Regions from separate parts of the Homo sapiens genome. Here regions 1, 2, 3 and 4 are each linked to region 5. The links are contacts of gene promoters, found by promoter capture Hi-C in blood cells and fetal thymus (Javierre and others, 2016). All regions are on one chromosome and are shown on one strand. Each heading gives the region's core, a stretch centred on a gene start or on the middle of the fragment in contact. The rest is flanking DNA. Distances are from core to core; before and after follow the strand shown.

Evidence for each region. Contacts are between HindIII fragments. The CHiCAGO score rates a contact against its expected background, and 5 or more counts as called.
Region 1: a contact is called between a fragment that was not itself captured here and the fragment with the promoter of FAM124A in region 5, in 1 of 17 cell types (neutrophils). The highest score is 5.5, in neutrophils.
Region 2: a contact is called between a fragment that was not itself captured here and the fragment with the promoter of FAM124A in region 5, in 3 of 17 cell types (fetal thymus, activated CD4 T cells and naive B cells). The highest score is 8.0, in fetal thymus.
Region 3: a contact is called between the fragment with the promoter of NEK3 here and the fragment with the promoter of FAM124A in region 5, in 4 of 17 cell types (non-activated CD4 T cells, activated CD4 T cells, naive CD4 T cells and 1 more). The highest score is 5.8, in non-activated CD4 T cells.
Region 4: a contact is called between a fragment that was not itself captured here and the fragment with the promoter of FAM124A in region 5, in 1 of 17 cell types (total B cells). The highest score is 5.0, in total B cells.

What each region holds. Positions count from the first base shown.
Region 1 is chr13:52,069,620-52,072,319 of GRCh38, forward strand. NEK5 (NIMA related kinase 5) reads right to left here. Exons shown (of 24, transcript NM_001365552.1): 20 at 2,325-2,451. Among named protein-coding and RNA genes, the nearest start is that of UTP14C, 46 kb to the left of the region's middle. The HindIII fragment of the contact is 2,725 bases long and covers 28-2,700 here.
Region 2 is chr13:51,794,727-51,797,426 of GRCh38, forward strand. All of the region lies in intron 2 of DHRS12 (dehydrogenase/reductase 12), which reads right to left. Among named protein-coding and RNA genes, the nearest start is that of DHRS12, 8.1 kb to the right of the region's middle. RefSeq lists an enhancer at 2,327-2,700. The HindIII fragment of the contact is 2,234 bases long and covers 269-2,502 here.
Region 3 is chr13:52,158,192-52,160,891 of GRCh38, forward strand. NEK3 (NIMA related kinase 3) reads right to left here and starts at 1,406. Exons shown (of 16, transcript NM_002498.3): 1 at 1,352-1,406. RefSeq lists silencers at 1,093-1,202, 1,283-1,342. The HindIII fragment of the contact is 6,327 bases long and covers 1-2,700 here.
Region 4 is chr13:51,866,846-51,869,545 of GRCh38, forward strand. It overlaps a transcript of TMEM272 not described here. Among named protein-coding and RNA genes, the nearest start is that of CCDC70, 6.2 kb to the left of the region's middle. The HindIII fragment of the contact is 191 bases long and covers 1,195-1,385 here.
Region 5 is chr13:51,221,089-51,223,788 of GRCh38, forward strand. It overlaps FAM124A (family with sequence similarity 124 member A), which reads left to right and starts at 1,310. Exons shown (of 4, transcript NM_001242312.2): 1 at 1,310-1,481. The coding sequence starts at 1,414. RefSeq lists an enhancer at 458-1,248 and silencers at 1,029-1,078, 1,199-1,258. The HindIII fragment of the contact is 7,882 bases long and covers 1-2,700 here.

The DNA.
Region 1 (2,700 bases), core at 140-2,639, 850 kb after region 5:
CCATGTGATGTATTTTTGGTTGATGAAAGCTTCATGCATTTGAATTAGAAAACTGGGAATATCCTTGAGCCCCTTCTCTTCCTCAGTTCCCACACTCAGTATCTATTCTCCCTGCACCACTCTGGCTCATGCACTTGGACTCTTCTCCTGCCTTCAGTCTTGCCCTCCATGCCATCCTTTGCTCTGCAGCCAGCATGATCCTTCTCAATCACAAAAATGATGGCATGTGAAGCCCTGGAGGAGTGCGGACCTCCCTGACTCTCCACCCAGCTCGCACTTCAAACAGTGATTAACATTTCAGGCTCAGAAAACATGTTTTGTGACTTTTTTGCTCATAACACTTCTGTGATATTGAGAACAGGGCCCAGATTTCATTCATCTTTGAGCTCCCTACCAGTGAGCAGTCTTTGGCACAAAGGAGATCCTCAATAAGATGCCTGCTGAATGGAGATTTTTCCAGAAGGAAATGAGGCAGAGAGTATTCCAGGAAGAGGAAACTGAGCCAAGTCAGTTCTGTAAATGCTGTAGGAGAAAATGGGCATTCCAGCTGTAGGAGAAAATGGGCATTCCAGCAGGCTGTATGGATCCCATTTTCCATGGAAGGAAAGAGGCCATGCTGGGATGAGAAAAGTGGGTCACAGCAGAATTAGGCCATGTAGTGTTAAATGTGATAATATGTGGAATGGACCTTATTCTGCAGGTATTATCCAAAAAAAAATCTGAGCAGAGTAATAATATGCCAAGATAACTTTAGTAACTGATATCGTTTGGCTGTGTCCCACCCAAATCTCATCTTGAATTCCTGTGTGTTGTGGGGTGACCCAGAGGGAGGTGGTTGAATCATGGGGGCGGATCTTTCCCATGCTGTTCTCGTGATGGTGAATGAGTCTCACGAGATAAGATGGTTTTAAAAAGAGGAGTTCCTCTGCACAAGTTCTTTCTCTTTGCCTGCTGCCATCCATGTAAAATGTGACTTGCTTTTCCTTGCCTTCCACCATGATTGTGAGGCTTCCCCAGCCATGTGGAACTGTAAGTCCAATTAAACCTCTTTCTTTTGTAAATTGCTCAGTCTCAGGTATGTCTTTATCAGCAGCAAGAAAATGGACTAATACAGTAACCATTTAGAGAATGAAGGGGAAATACTAGAGAAAGAAGGTCACATAAGCAAATAAGGCAATACAGCAAGGGGAAGGAAAAGGGAAAATGAAAAGACAGCACTTAATTTAGGCACCTAGTATGTGCCAGGTCGTTTATACATCAAAACTCACTTTGGTCCTCACAATTACCCTGTGTGGTTATTCCTACTACTATTATCCCCTGTTCCTAAGGTGAAACTGAGATTCAGTGTTGGAATAACTTGTGAAAGAAAGGTCACATAACCAGAAGGTGGCAGCAACAGCTGAGATTCAATTCCCATCTGTCTCTGAAGCCTACACCACACTACTGAGAGATGACAGAGCCCTAAACCAGTAACAGAGAGAATGAAGGAAGAGGAAGACTCCAGAGACATCTCAGAATAGACACTATGCTAAGGGTGCACCCTGGTGACAGCACTGACTGTGAAGTTCTCATAAGATAAGTAAACAACAAAAAGGGAGGGGTCCCAGGTTGGGGGTGGGGATGGGGGAACAACTGTTCTGAGAGATGACTCATCACAGACAAGCTGCTGTCACATCCTGTTCCCAAATACCTCATTCCTTCCACATGTAGCCCAAGCAGCAAAACCTTATCTGCACACCTTATCAGCATGTAGCTCCTCCAATATGACCCTATAAAACTTCCCTCTAGCCCCTGCCTCTTAGCAGACAGCCTCTTCTCTGCTGTGCTGCCCATTGCACTCTTGCAACGTATCTCTGTACTTTAATAAATCTGCCTTTCTTTACTTACAATTGTGTTGATAAATTCTTTTACTGCCCACAACACTGGCCCCAGCCAGTTGCATCTGTGACACTAACCAAAATAAAGGGTCACTGGGAAGAGCACAGAAGAGCTTGACTTTACACAGCTGAGTTTCAGATACTGGCAACACTTGTCCATGGAGCTTCCCAGAAGACAATGAGAAAGACTGGTAAGTCTGGAGCTCCTGGGAGAAGCCAAAGCTGCAAGAGGGAGTGGGTATGGAGCAGGAGAGGAGGGCTGGATCTCAGGGAGTGTGGCCACTGCATGGGTGGCAGGAGAATAATAAGTGTGTTTCTGCCTTGCTTAGAGAGGGCAGAAAGGGGTCAAGTAACAGTGGAGCCGAGGCAGATGCATGGGGACAGAGTTCAAAATGGGTTGCTAATAAAACAGTTCCTTCTCATTTACAACTTTCAAGAAACACATACCTGCTTCTGGGCAGTGAAGTTTTTCAAATGCTTTGTCTGTATAATCTCCATGCTCCTTTACACATTCATATTCCTTAAACTTCATGCCATCCTCAAAGGTCAAAGTTTCATTTGGTATATCCATTGCCTAAATCAATTCCACAGTGTTTCATGATAAATTAGCCATATTTTGAAAGAAAGAAAAACCATATTTTCGTGTTCCTAGTAAAATTAATTAGCAAGGTATATAGTAAATATTCAACAAATGTTTACTAAACAAATAAATCCATAGAGTTTTAAAACTAGAGCTATGTTAGATAAAAACAGAAATGTTTTCATTTCTTCTCCATGTTAACAGTGTCAAGCACTGGTCATAAGGCAACTTAATTTTATCTAG
Region 2 (2,700 bases), core at 136-2,635, 570 kb after region 5:
TCTCAAAAATAGCCTATCTCAAAAATCCCGAGAGCCTATCTCAAAAAATAATACATAAAATAGAAGTTTTTTTTTTTTTTAATGTTACCCATGGAGATAACTGCTAGACGAAAGTCTGGAGCCAGGTACTAAGGTGGGGCTGAACTGCAACCAGAAGCCTGGGGAAAAAGGTACACCCTGTTTCTCCCCTAGGCCCTTTGGGAGCATCGTGTCCAGTGGACTGGTGAGCCAGCAGTCTGCTCTACAGTAACCAGTACTCCTTTCCCCAAGCTTAAGCCACACATAACCTCTCTGAAAGATCACCTCAGCATGATATTCACCTCTCTATATGGCCAAACACCTGATCTTACCAAGCCAGCGTGTACAAGCAGCTGAGATCCCCACGTGACCTTGAGCCTTACCTGGTGCCTGTGCTCCCTGGCTCAGCTGGCCTGCCGCACACCTCACCCAGACCCTCCTGCCCAAGGGACCTTCTTTCTTTGATGTTCACCCAACCATGCACGCAGGACCAGCTGCTCCACTGCCCTCACAGCTCTACCACACATCTTTTCTGCTACTGGGGGCTTGCAGGCTTCCACCTCCCACTGAGCAGGGCCTAAGCACTGATTAAACAGAACACACTTGAAGCAGAGAATGTAAGGTTGGGAGTGGTAATAATATTAGTATAAACAATAATGATAATACCAACAATAATAATAGTAGCTACTTCTATTGATTGAGAGCTGTTTGTTCTTAGGATACCCTGAGCTTCCCATCTTGTAGCCCTTATCATGTTATTTCAGTAACATCTAACAGACACCTCTTTCAACAGAGGGAACTGAACGCAGGGATTGATTTCCCAGGTGATTAAGGAAGGTGAGAACTCAACCAGGATTGGTGAAGTAACCCAGAGATTAGTAACAACAGGAAACTACCACCAGCCCTAGGCTCAAGGAACAAAGGGAGAATGCAGTGTGGCCTGAGCCCAGGAACCAGAAGGAAGAACCAGAGAGGAGATTCGCCATCACCAGGGAAGCCAATATCTCAATTCCCCCCTTCCTTTCACCTAGCAATCTTCCTCTAGTAACTGCCATTGGCCAAACCCAGCCAAAAGCTGTCTGGTTGTAGGAGCTGAAGAAACACATACCTTGGGGTTCATACTATTTGTCCCCCAACCCACCCCCACTATGATACAGAGCATGGCGGCCAGGCCCAGGGCAGGCACACACACTTCAAGGAAACTGTTAATCACTTGTATCCTGCACAAGACTGTCTGGGGCTGTGTCTGTCCCAATCACTGTGTCTCCAGCTGTTTGGCATACGGTTCACCCTTAAATACATGTTAAAAAACTAATAAAGTCAAGTTACCCCTATTTTTTAATGAGGAAATGAATGTTCAGGGAAGCTAAGAACTTTGCCCAAGCTCACAGGCCAGAAAGTGCAAAACCAGGACTCGTATCAGAGCCCAACTCCCTCCTTCATACCACGCTTTTGTGTGTGGGCTGCCTACCAAAGGTAGACCAGATGAAGCTGTGGAGTGGGGCCTCTTCATAAGCAGGGAGGGACAGCTGATCCCTGGCAGAGCCTGGAGGAGACACTGAGTCAGGGAAACCACAGACACTGGCATAAGCAGACAGGTACCCTCATCCTGGACGCTCCACCTCTGAGTGCTGGAGGCCACTTATAAACCCGAGAGAGCAGTGAATGTCCTGTGTGTGCATTCAAATCCCGTCAAGTGTATCTGTATGGAGGTGAGGGGGGCAGTAGGCAAGGGCTTGCTTTCTCCCCAGTGCAGGAACATGCTTGCTCCCCTTTTCAGCTCTCTACCCCTCCTAAACATGGTGGAATTAGATATAAGCCAAACAGATCCATATTATCATCATTTTTCATTTAAATATACTTTTTAAAGCCTGTGGCCCACACCACAGCAGGCTGGAATCCAGGCAAACCTCCTCCTGTCCGTGGCCTGAGATTAGTATTCTTGTTGCATCCTGCAGCAGCACCACCGAAAGTTATCAGCAGGCAGACAGCCAGCTTTCAATCTCGAGAACTGCAGCCCGCAGATCGCAGCGGCACTTGCAGACATTAGAGGAAGATTTAGAGACCCTCACACTTGCCGCCAGCACTAAGCCTCTGTAAGGCACCTGATGGCATGAGACTGGGGATTTCCATGAGAAAGGGAAAGGAACAGACACTTGGTGTGAAAATGTTATTTCAAAGTTGATGCAAAATATTCCATCCTAGAGAGGGGCATTCTTCTCTTTGACCAGGGTCCATGCCTGAGGGTGGGTACTGTCTGTCCCTCCCCAGCTTCCCTCCTACAGGCCCTCCAATTGTGGGGTCTCCTAGAGAAGAGGTAGGAATGGAATGAGGATGTTCTTTAGTGACAGTGAGCGAGCAGCCATGACTGAGGGTCCTTTTGGGGGTCAGGGTTTTCCATTCAGGGCAGCCTTATGGCTACACGATGGATCATGGGAATATGATCTATACAGCTGCACACGCCCTGCGACTGGAAAGGCCTCAAGCTTGGTTTAATGTCCTGCCTTTGTTGTGTAGAAATTCTAAATAACTTTTACACAAGGGTCTTGCATTTTCATTTTGCACCGAGCCCCACTAATTATGTAGCCAATCCTGGTTCCAGCTCTTTCAGAACAGAAAGACCACAAAATGTGAGGCAGCTCTGAAGGCTCGTGTCAGAAAGTAGCTCTCATCAAGACCCAA
Region 3 (2,700 bases), core at 156-2,655, 940 kb after region 5:
TAATTACACCACAAAGAATTATAAGGCAGAGAGAGCATGACAGGCAAAGCAAAAATCAAACTAAAACCTCTACTATAGTGACCTGTAAAAATTCCAGTTTGTATTACTGTTTATCACAGAATTACCAGGAAATCCTAGAAATAATTTCTTCATATAACCAAATCAGTCATACACATTGTCTTCGAAACAATGTTTTTCCAAGATCGATGAGGTCTTTTGAGTGTATATAGATGTGAAAGAAACAAGTCCTTTACTACTATTCTAACACCTGGTATTACACGGTTTAACATGGAAGCCAAGTTTCCCCATGATCTTATTCTTCGTTTCTTCGGGGCTTTATTCTATGCAATGGAGAGTAACTGAAAATTAAGAGCAACCAGACTTCTTAGCTGAAAACCACATTTGATATTTTCTGCCCACATTTGCCTGTTACTCAATATTACACCCATATGATCATTACAAGACCTGAATACACTCTGGACATGGCAAAAGTATATCGGCCCCTTCGCATGCCTGCAACAATACTTTTAAAAACCTAATAAAGTGATTTGCAAATACCCAGAAGTGGGATCACCAGTGAGATACGGGCTAAGTTCAGAAAGGTCCCTGAAACCACCTTTACAGATGTATAAGTAATGCGAGAAATCTAACATGACTGACTCCATCTTGCTTCTAACCTCACGGGCTAAGTTTTCACCGTGTTGTCGTTTTCTTATTCTAGCACAGAGGCTAGGATAACTGGGAGAGGGATTTCGTGTAAACTTCAAGACAAGGGAAACTGACCCCACCCCTTCCTGGGAACCAACGAAGCCGCCCCGAGTTTCAGAAGCTCTTGTGATTTCATCCCCAGCCGGTCAACTGTTTCAGTTCCCCAGCCCCCCGAAGCCAAAATGCCCTTTAAAACCCTCGCCCCCGAATTCTCGGGGAGACAGGTCTGAGACCCTGTTCTGGTTTGGCCAGCCCTGCGCTTATTAACTTCTTTTTTTGCTGCAACAGCGGTTCTCACTGGTTCTTTCCGGGCAGCGAGCGAGAAGAATCCGTTGAGCCGGGGCCGGCGCCCGCGGGGCAACTGCACCGCGGGGGAGCCCAGTCGCCCCGCTCACCCGTGAGGGCCCTTTCTCCTGGAAAAGCCGCTCCGCCCTGCTGACCCCCACGGCACCGCGCGCCCAGACCCCAAGGCGGCGAGGGACTTGCGGGTTTGCGGCGAGTGGTCCAGACCGCGGGGCGGAAGTGAGGGGCGCGGCCGCGCGTCCGGGGCGCGTCTACCCCTCGCTCCCACTCGGCTCCGCGCCGCGACCACGCGCCGCCCTCCTCGTTCTAGAGGCAGCCCGCCAGGGCGGGGACCACTCACCCGCTTCCCCGGCGACCCTAGTCCACTCCTTGGCCTGGCAACCGGCGGCTTCCGCGGGGCGGGCCCGGCGGGTCGTCTCTCGGGTTGCGGGTGAAGGAAGCCGCCTGGGTCTGGCGGGAGGCACTGTTCTTGGAGTAGCCGGGCCTACGAAGAGCACGTTTTAAAGCTGTTGTTCCACGTTGCGGTGGAACAGTGCTGTTAACATTGAGGGAAATTGTCCCCGACTAACTGAGTTCTGTCTGCAGGTTAAGTGAAAGCCTATGTAGATAAATTTCACGGGCACAGCACTCAGTGCTAGCTAGAACTTACTAGCTATGTGACCTTGGGCAATTGTGGAAGGCGGGATAATGCTTCCGCCTCAGGATGTCCACATCCTACTCCCTGGAACCTGTGCGTTTGTTCTCTTGCTTGGCAGAGGGGGTTAAGATTGCAGATGGAATTAAGGTTGCTTATCAGCGGACTTTAAAATAAGGTGACGATCTTGGAGTGTGTGCTTGGGTAATTACAAAGTAATTACAAGGGTTCTCTAAAGTGGAAGGGGCCCAAAAAGAAGGTCAGTATGAGAAAGCTATTTGAAGGTGGAGGAAGGGGCAACAGCCAAGGAATGCAGCTGGCCTCAAGAAGCTGGAAGAGGAGCAGGCACAGTGTCTCATGTTTGCAATCCCAGTGCTTTGGAAGGCAGAGGCAGGAGAGGAACACTTTAGCCCAGGAGTTCGAGATCAGCCTGGGCAACATAGTGAGACACTCGTCTCTACGAAAAATTAACTAGACATAGCGACGGGCACTGTGGTCCCAGCTGCTCGGGGGATTGGGGCAGGAGGATCACTAGAGCTGGAGAGGGCTCATGATCCCACCACTGCAGTCCAGCTTTGGTGACAGAGCAAGAACCTGTCTCCAAAAAAAAAAAAAAATATATATATATATATATATATATATATAAAGGAGGAGGTGGGAGGTGGAAAAGGAGGAGAAGCTAGAAAAGGAGGGAAAAACAAAAAACAAAAACCAAATTGTTCCCCAGAGCTTCCAGAAGTAACAGTCCAGCTGACCCCTTGATTTTTTTGTTTTTTGAAACAGGGTCTTGCTATGTTGCCAAGACTGGTTTTGAGCTCCCGGGCTCAAGCGATCCGCCCACCTCAGCCTCCTGAGTGGCTGGGACTACAGGAAAACCACCATGCACACTGACGCCTTGATTTTAACCCAGTGAGCTGTATTTCTGAACTTCAGAACTGTAAGGTAATAAATTCGTGTCGTTTTAGCCACTTAGGTTGTCACAGTTTGTTACAGAAGCCTTAGGAAACTAATACAGCAGAGTAACTAAATCCCTCTGTATAAAAGTATAGAACCTA
Region 4 (2,700 bases), core at 40-2,539, 650 kb after region 5:
CATAAGTCTCATGGTCCCTGTGTTTCTGTATTATACATTCTTTTTGGGGGGCTTCCTGCTTTCATCTATTTTAAAATTAAAATACCCTAGGGAGTAGTACATTGAATGAATGTACATGAATGTGGTCAAGCAACTTATGTGCCCAACTTTTCTTCTGGGGGTGGGGAGATTAGATGGCCTTTATAGGGAATGCCACACAAATGACCAGAGTGAGGGAGTAAGGGAGTAAGAAACGCCACGACAAATGTGTCCTGCTCCCCCTTTCCTTAGGCCTGGCCTTCACTGTCATTAACACATCAACTTACCTCACCGTAGTGGGTCCCCTACTACTAGACAAGCACTTTCTCATGCACCTCCTCATGTGACCTTCACCACAGCTCTGTGGGCTGGCAGGGAAGGTGCATAAACCCATTGTACAGATGAGGAAACAGAGACCTAAAGAAGCAATGTGAGTGCATGTGGTTCAGCAAGTAGCAAATAGGAGGGCCAGGACCAAAACCCACAGTGTCTGTCTCTTGGTATTGTGGCCCTTTCCTAATACAGCCCTGGGTCACGGGAAGTGACTTGGCTGATAGTGGTGTCAATACTGGGAGAGCCTTAAAGTACACTAGGATTTCACAGTGGCTTGGGGGTGGAGAGCTAGGGAGAGGAGAGGACAGGGATCTTTACAAAGTCAAGGGTGAACAAATACCCTTGGTGCCAGGAGAGTGGGCCGACTCCCAGGAGCAGCCAGGCCTCTGAGGCTTCAGAAGATTGTGGGAAAGCCTGGGTTACTGCATGGCCAATGGAAAAATTGGCGCTGGGAAAGTCTGGGTTCCCTGCAAGTCCTCTGATTCTCAGAGGAAGCAGGGTCAGAGAGCAGTGGGAGCAGCTTTCTCCTTGGTCACACACCCATCCTCAGCTCTCCATGGGTCCCAGGGCAAGGACTTCAGCAAGCCATGGGGAATAGGATGCAGGGTGGAGAGAATTCGATTTCAAGAGGGCTGCCAGGGGCCCACACTCAAGACCTGGACGGTGTGGGCCATTGGATGGTATTCACACTGCAGGAACCCCAGTGCAGAGAAAAGCTGCAGATTCAAAAATCCCCAGAGATTCTGCCAAAGACAAAATTCAGGATGAAGGGAGATGAAAAGTGTACTCTAGACCTCCACAATTGCAGACTCCTTTTATCTGCTGTGGAAAGGAAGTTCTCAAAGCTTGTTTAGCACCTGGGTGAACTCAACCTTTCTTCTTGTTCCCTGCCATCCAACAAGAAGGTGTGCAGCCAGCATCCCTTTGCTACATAAATCATTTAATTCATCATCCACTTATGTATTTATTCATCACCACTGTGCCTTGCCAACACTATGCTATGTTTGGGAACGAGCTAATTCTTGCCTACGGGAAGCTTTCCGTCCAGTGCGGGAGAGTCACACAATCACAATGTCATTATTTGGAAAATCTGGCAAATGCTAGGAGGGAAGAGGCCCATGGGGCTGCCTCTCTGAGAGAGCACTACAGCAGTGCATGTCACTCGAGTGTGCTTTAAACGCTATGCAAAGATGCACAGAGATGAATGAAACCGAGTTTTAGCCAAAAGGAAACCTAAGGATAAGTAAGCTGTGTACAACTAATATCTGGGAATCACCTGACCTTCAGCATTGTTTCACAGATAGAGTGCAGATAACATTCACAGAAACATCTCCTAACTTCTGGGCTTTTATTAATACTGTTAGCACAAATGCAGATAGATTTCTCCACAACCTCAGCAGCAGCCAAAGCTGGCTTCCCTTAGCCAGCACCTGTGACAGCAAGGCTGAACTCCTGAGAGAGTTCCTGGGTCTTTCGTAAGACAAAGCACAGGCAAATATCTATGGAGTGGCTCAGTCTCCCTGCTTTGAGCTCCTGGCAGGGAGAAATGTCATTTATGGTGTTTCAGAGTCCTGCTCATTTAGCTGAGTTCCAGACTCGAAATGAATCATCTTTTATTCCAAAATCATAATGCAGATACTAGAAGATTCAGAGGCGCCAGAAACAGCATCTATTGTCATAACTGTTGTTTCACCACTAAATTCATCTTCCCCGCAAAGCCTGAGCTGTGCCTCCACCCAGAAGTGCTTACCCAAATTACCCAAAGCTGCCAGAAGGGAAAGGAAATATTTTTGAAATGCAGTGGGTTCTCCAGTGTCTTCTCTGGTTTAAACCATCTGTGGTTTATCTCCAGGAAAGGGGCTACTCACCCAACCCCTCTCCACCTTGCCATCCCTAGACTCATGCAAGAGTTTAGATAGAGAAGGCATCCCACTGGCTGTCTAGTTGAACCCCCTTATTTTGTAGATGAAGGAACAATGCTCAGTGAAGAGACTTTGGCTGTGGTAAGGAGTGGAGCTGTGTCATGATCAAGGTCTGACTCTAGTTCATCTATTGCTCTCTCCATCCTCACATTATTAACCTCAACAAAGCTATTCCTCATTGCCCCGAGGAGGGTGGACCATGTCCTAAGTTCTTATGTGCCAGCATTAGACGTCGTGCTATCAAGAATTATCTTGTCCCTTTAAACGGTATCAATGGGGCTAGCTCCACCCTTGTCCCTAAATTAAAACTCGAGTAGACACCATGGATTCTTCCAGTCACTTTAAGTTAAAAAACCCAGTCCCAATTCAGTAATTTTTTTTTTTTTTTTGAGATGGAGTCTCGCCCTGTCGCCCAGGCTGGAGTGCA
Region 5 (2,700 bases), core at 60-2,559:
GGCCTTTTCCTTAGTACCATCTTCCTGAGGATACAACTGGCCCACTCATCAGCCTTCTAGGTAAGTGGCACAGGCTCCAGCTACCTTAAGTGGACTACCTGGCTTCCCTGCTCACTGATAGGGTGTCCTGGGACCAGGCACTCGAACTCGGTAGGGTTTAGTTTCCTTGACGGTAAAATAGAAAAGTAAGCCTGTTTCACAGCACTTCCCTGAGGATCAAATGAGGCACAGTTTGAATTGTTCCCACACAGAGTAAATAAAGGCAGGTTCCCTCCTGGCTGCAAGATAAAAAATGGGCAGGGGAATCTCCCTTGAAGAACTGGCACGCTCCTTTCTTTCAGCTAATGCCCACCAATATGTCCATTGCTGTTTGGGGTGCAAGAAATTTTAGGCTCAGTAAGGACAATTCCTCCCAATGGTTTGGATAGGGCTGTCAGAACTAAATTCAAGTTGTTCGAAGTCTCCTTCCGCCCGCCCTGCCAACTTGCCTCCCTCTTCACCCTCCTAATAGGAGGTGAGCCCCTCCAATAGCGATCATTAACTCACCCTAAGGTTATCCCCTTGCTGCAACAACCCGTGAATTGCAGGTTCATTCAATGCTCTTTAAATTATTTTTAAAGGCTTTTTTTTTTTTAAGTAGCAAAAGAATGCATGACACCTATTGTAAACTGGCAAGTTGAGGGGGTGGGATGCCGCTCAGACGTGTACTGAGAAAGGTGATAATGAATTTGGCGTCAGCAATTCTTCAGAAACTATAAGAAAACACCCAGGTGTTCGAATTGGTCCCAAAAGGGAAACAAATCCTTCCCAGCTTTCACGATGCGCTGAGGTTGGTTTTCTCAGTGCTCCTCCCAGATCAGGAGGTGGGGAACCTCGTGGCAAGCCCTGGGGCTCGGGATTCCCGGACTGTGGGCCTGGGGGAGAGAGGCGGCTCTCGTGTGCACACTTACCCCGCCCCCACAACACACACGCGGTCACGCACCACAGACGGGCACACGCGCTCAGCACAGCCACAGTCGCGTGCAACCAGGAGTGCACACCGCACCCACATCACACCGCATGCACAGACGCACGGGTGTGAGACCACACACCTCGGCCACTCACGCTCACACGCCCCCCACGCGCTCGCACACGCGCTCGCACGCGCACTCCCCGCGCACCGCCGCGCGCACACGCGGGTCCCGCCGGACGGCGAGGGGCGGGGCGGGCGCGGGCGCAGGCGCGGGTGCCCAGCCGGGCGCGGTCGGGAGAGGGCGCGGCGCGGGGTTCGCGGCTGGCGCTTGAGTTGTTTGCCGGCTCCCGGGCCGCCAGACGCTCGGAGGGAGCCCGGCCGGCTCGGACTGGGCGGCCGGGAGGGAGGGCGCCCCGGGTCACGACGGCGCCCGCAAGCCGAGCGCGGCCGGGACGTGCACCATGGACCCAAAGGCGGGCGGCGGCGGCGAGGAGGACGACTGCGTGGACTCGGGCGCCGAGACCGGAGGGTGAGCCGCGCCGGGCCGGGCCGCGGGCGGGGGGCGCTCTCCGAGTTGCGCGGCGGCTCCTCCCCGGACGGGGACCCTCCTGATCCGTGCGACGGGACCGGGGCGCGGGGCTTCTCCTCCTGCCGGATCCCCCGCTCTCTCCTGGGCGGGCCGCGCTGCCCTGGGCAGGGCGGGCACCACCCGGGGGGAGGAAAGTGGAAGGACTCAAGGTTCAGTGCAAGCCCACCCATCCTGTGAGGCGATGCAGAGCGCCAGGCGGATGCAAAGACCCCTTGTCTGCATCGCTAGAGACAGGAGATGCTCTTGCACTTGTTTCCTCCTTCCTCGGGGACTTTCCTCCTGTAGCTCCGGAGCCCCCTGGAGTCCGGCCCTGGAGATCGGGAGAGGAAGAAAAGCAGGGTGGGACACCCGCACCTAAAAGTCTTTCCGAAGTCGGCTAGGAGGATGGCATTTCTCGTTATATGGCTTCATCGTGGGACTTTAATCTGTGCTGCCGAGTCCCCCTCCCCGACTCCTCCAGTCCCGCCGAACTTCCTCACCTCTAAGTGCACCTGTCCCAGCTGGACCCTTTGGCCTGTTGTACCGGCGGGATGGAGATGGTGTTGGGATTAGGATCTAGCCCTGCCTTTTTTTTTTTTTAATATTCTCTTCGCTTCAGCGGACTCAAACAATGGGCTCAAACCTTTGGAGACTAATTAGTTAGTCTCCAAACACTGTTTTCCTGAGCGGAAGAAAAGACAAAATGCCTTTTAGGAGATGAATGTCGTTATAAAGGCTTCCAGGCAGCCTCTGTCTCTAAAGGACTTTCCTGTGCAGAGTCAGCACCACATCCAGGCCGCGGGTACTGACCCAGGAGGAAAGGGTGTTTTTTCCTATCTGGAGTAATCCTGGGGGAGGGCGGGAGCTGCCTAGACTACAGAAAGCCTCATTCCTGGAAGGTCGGAGAGGTTTTAGACTAATCTCAGGATTTGGCAACCCTGTGAGGGCAGGTAGAGAATCCAGGCCCACGATCGACCCAGAGTTCTAACCCAACCCCGGCAAAGCTCCCCACAGGGCCCCTCCTGCCCCACCACTCCTAGCCCAAATGCGGGACTTTACTCCCTAGGGCATTCACCCAGCAATGGGCTTTCTCTGTTATCCAAACTTATTCATAGCTCTCTACAGCACCCAATTATAATCTGGTGGAGTAACCTGATGCTAAATGCCAAACTTCCTTTCT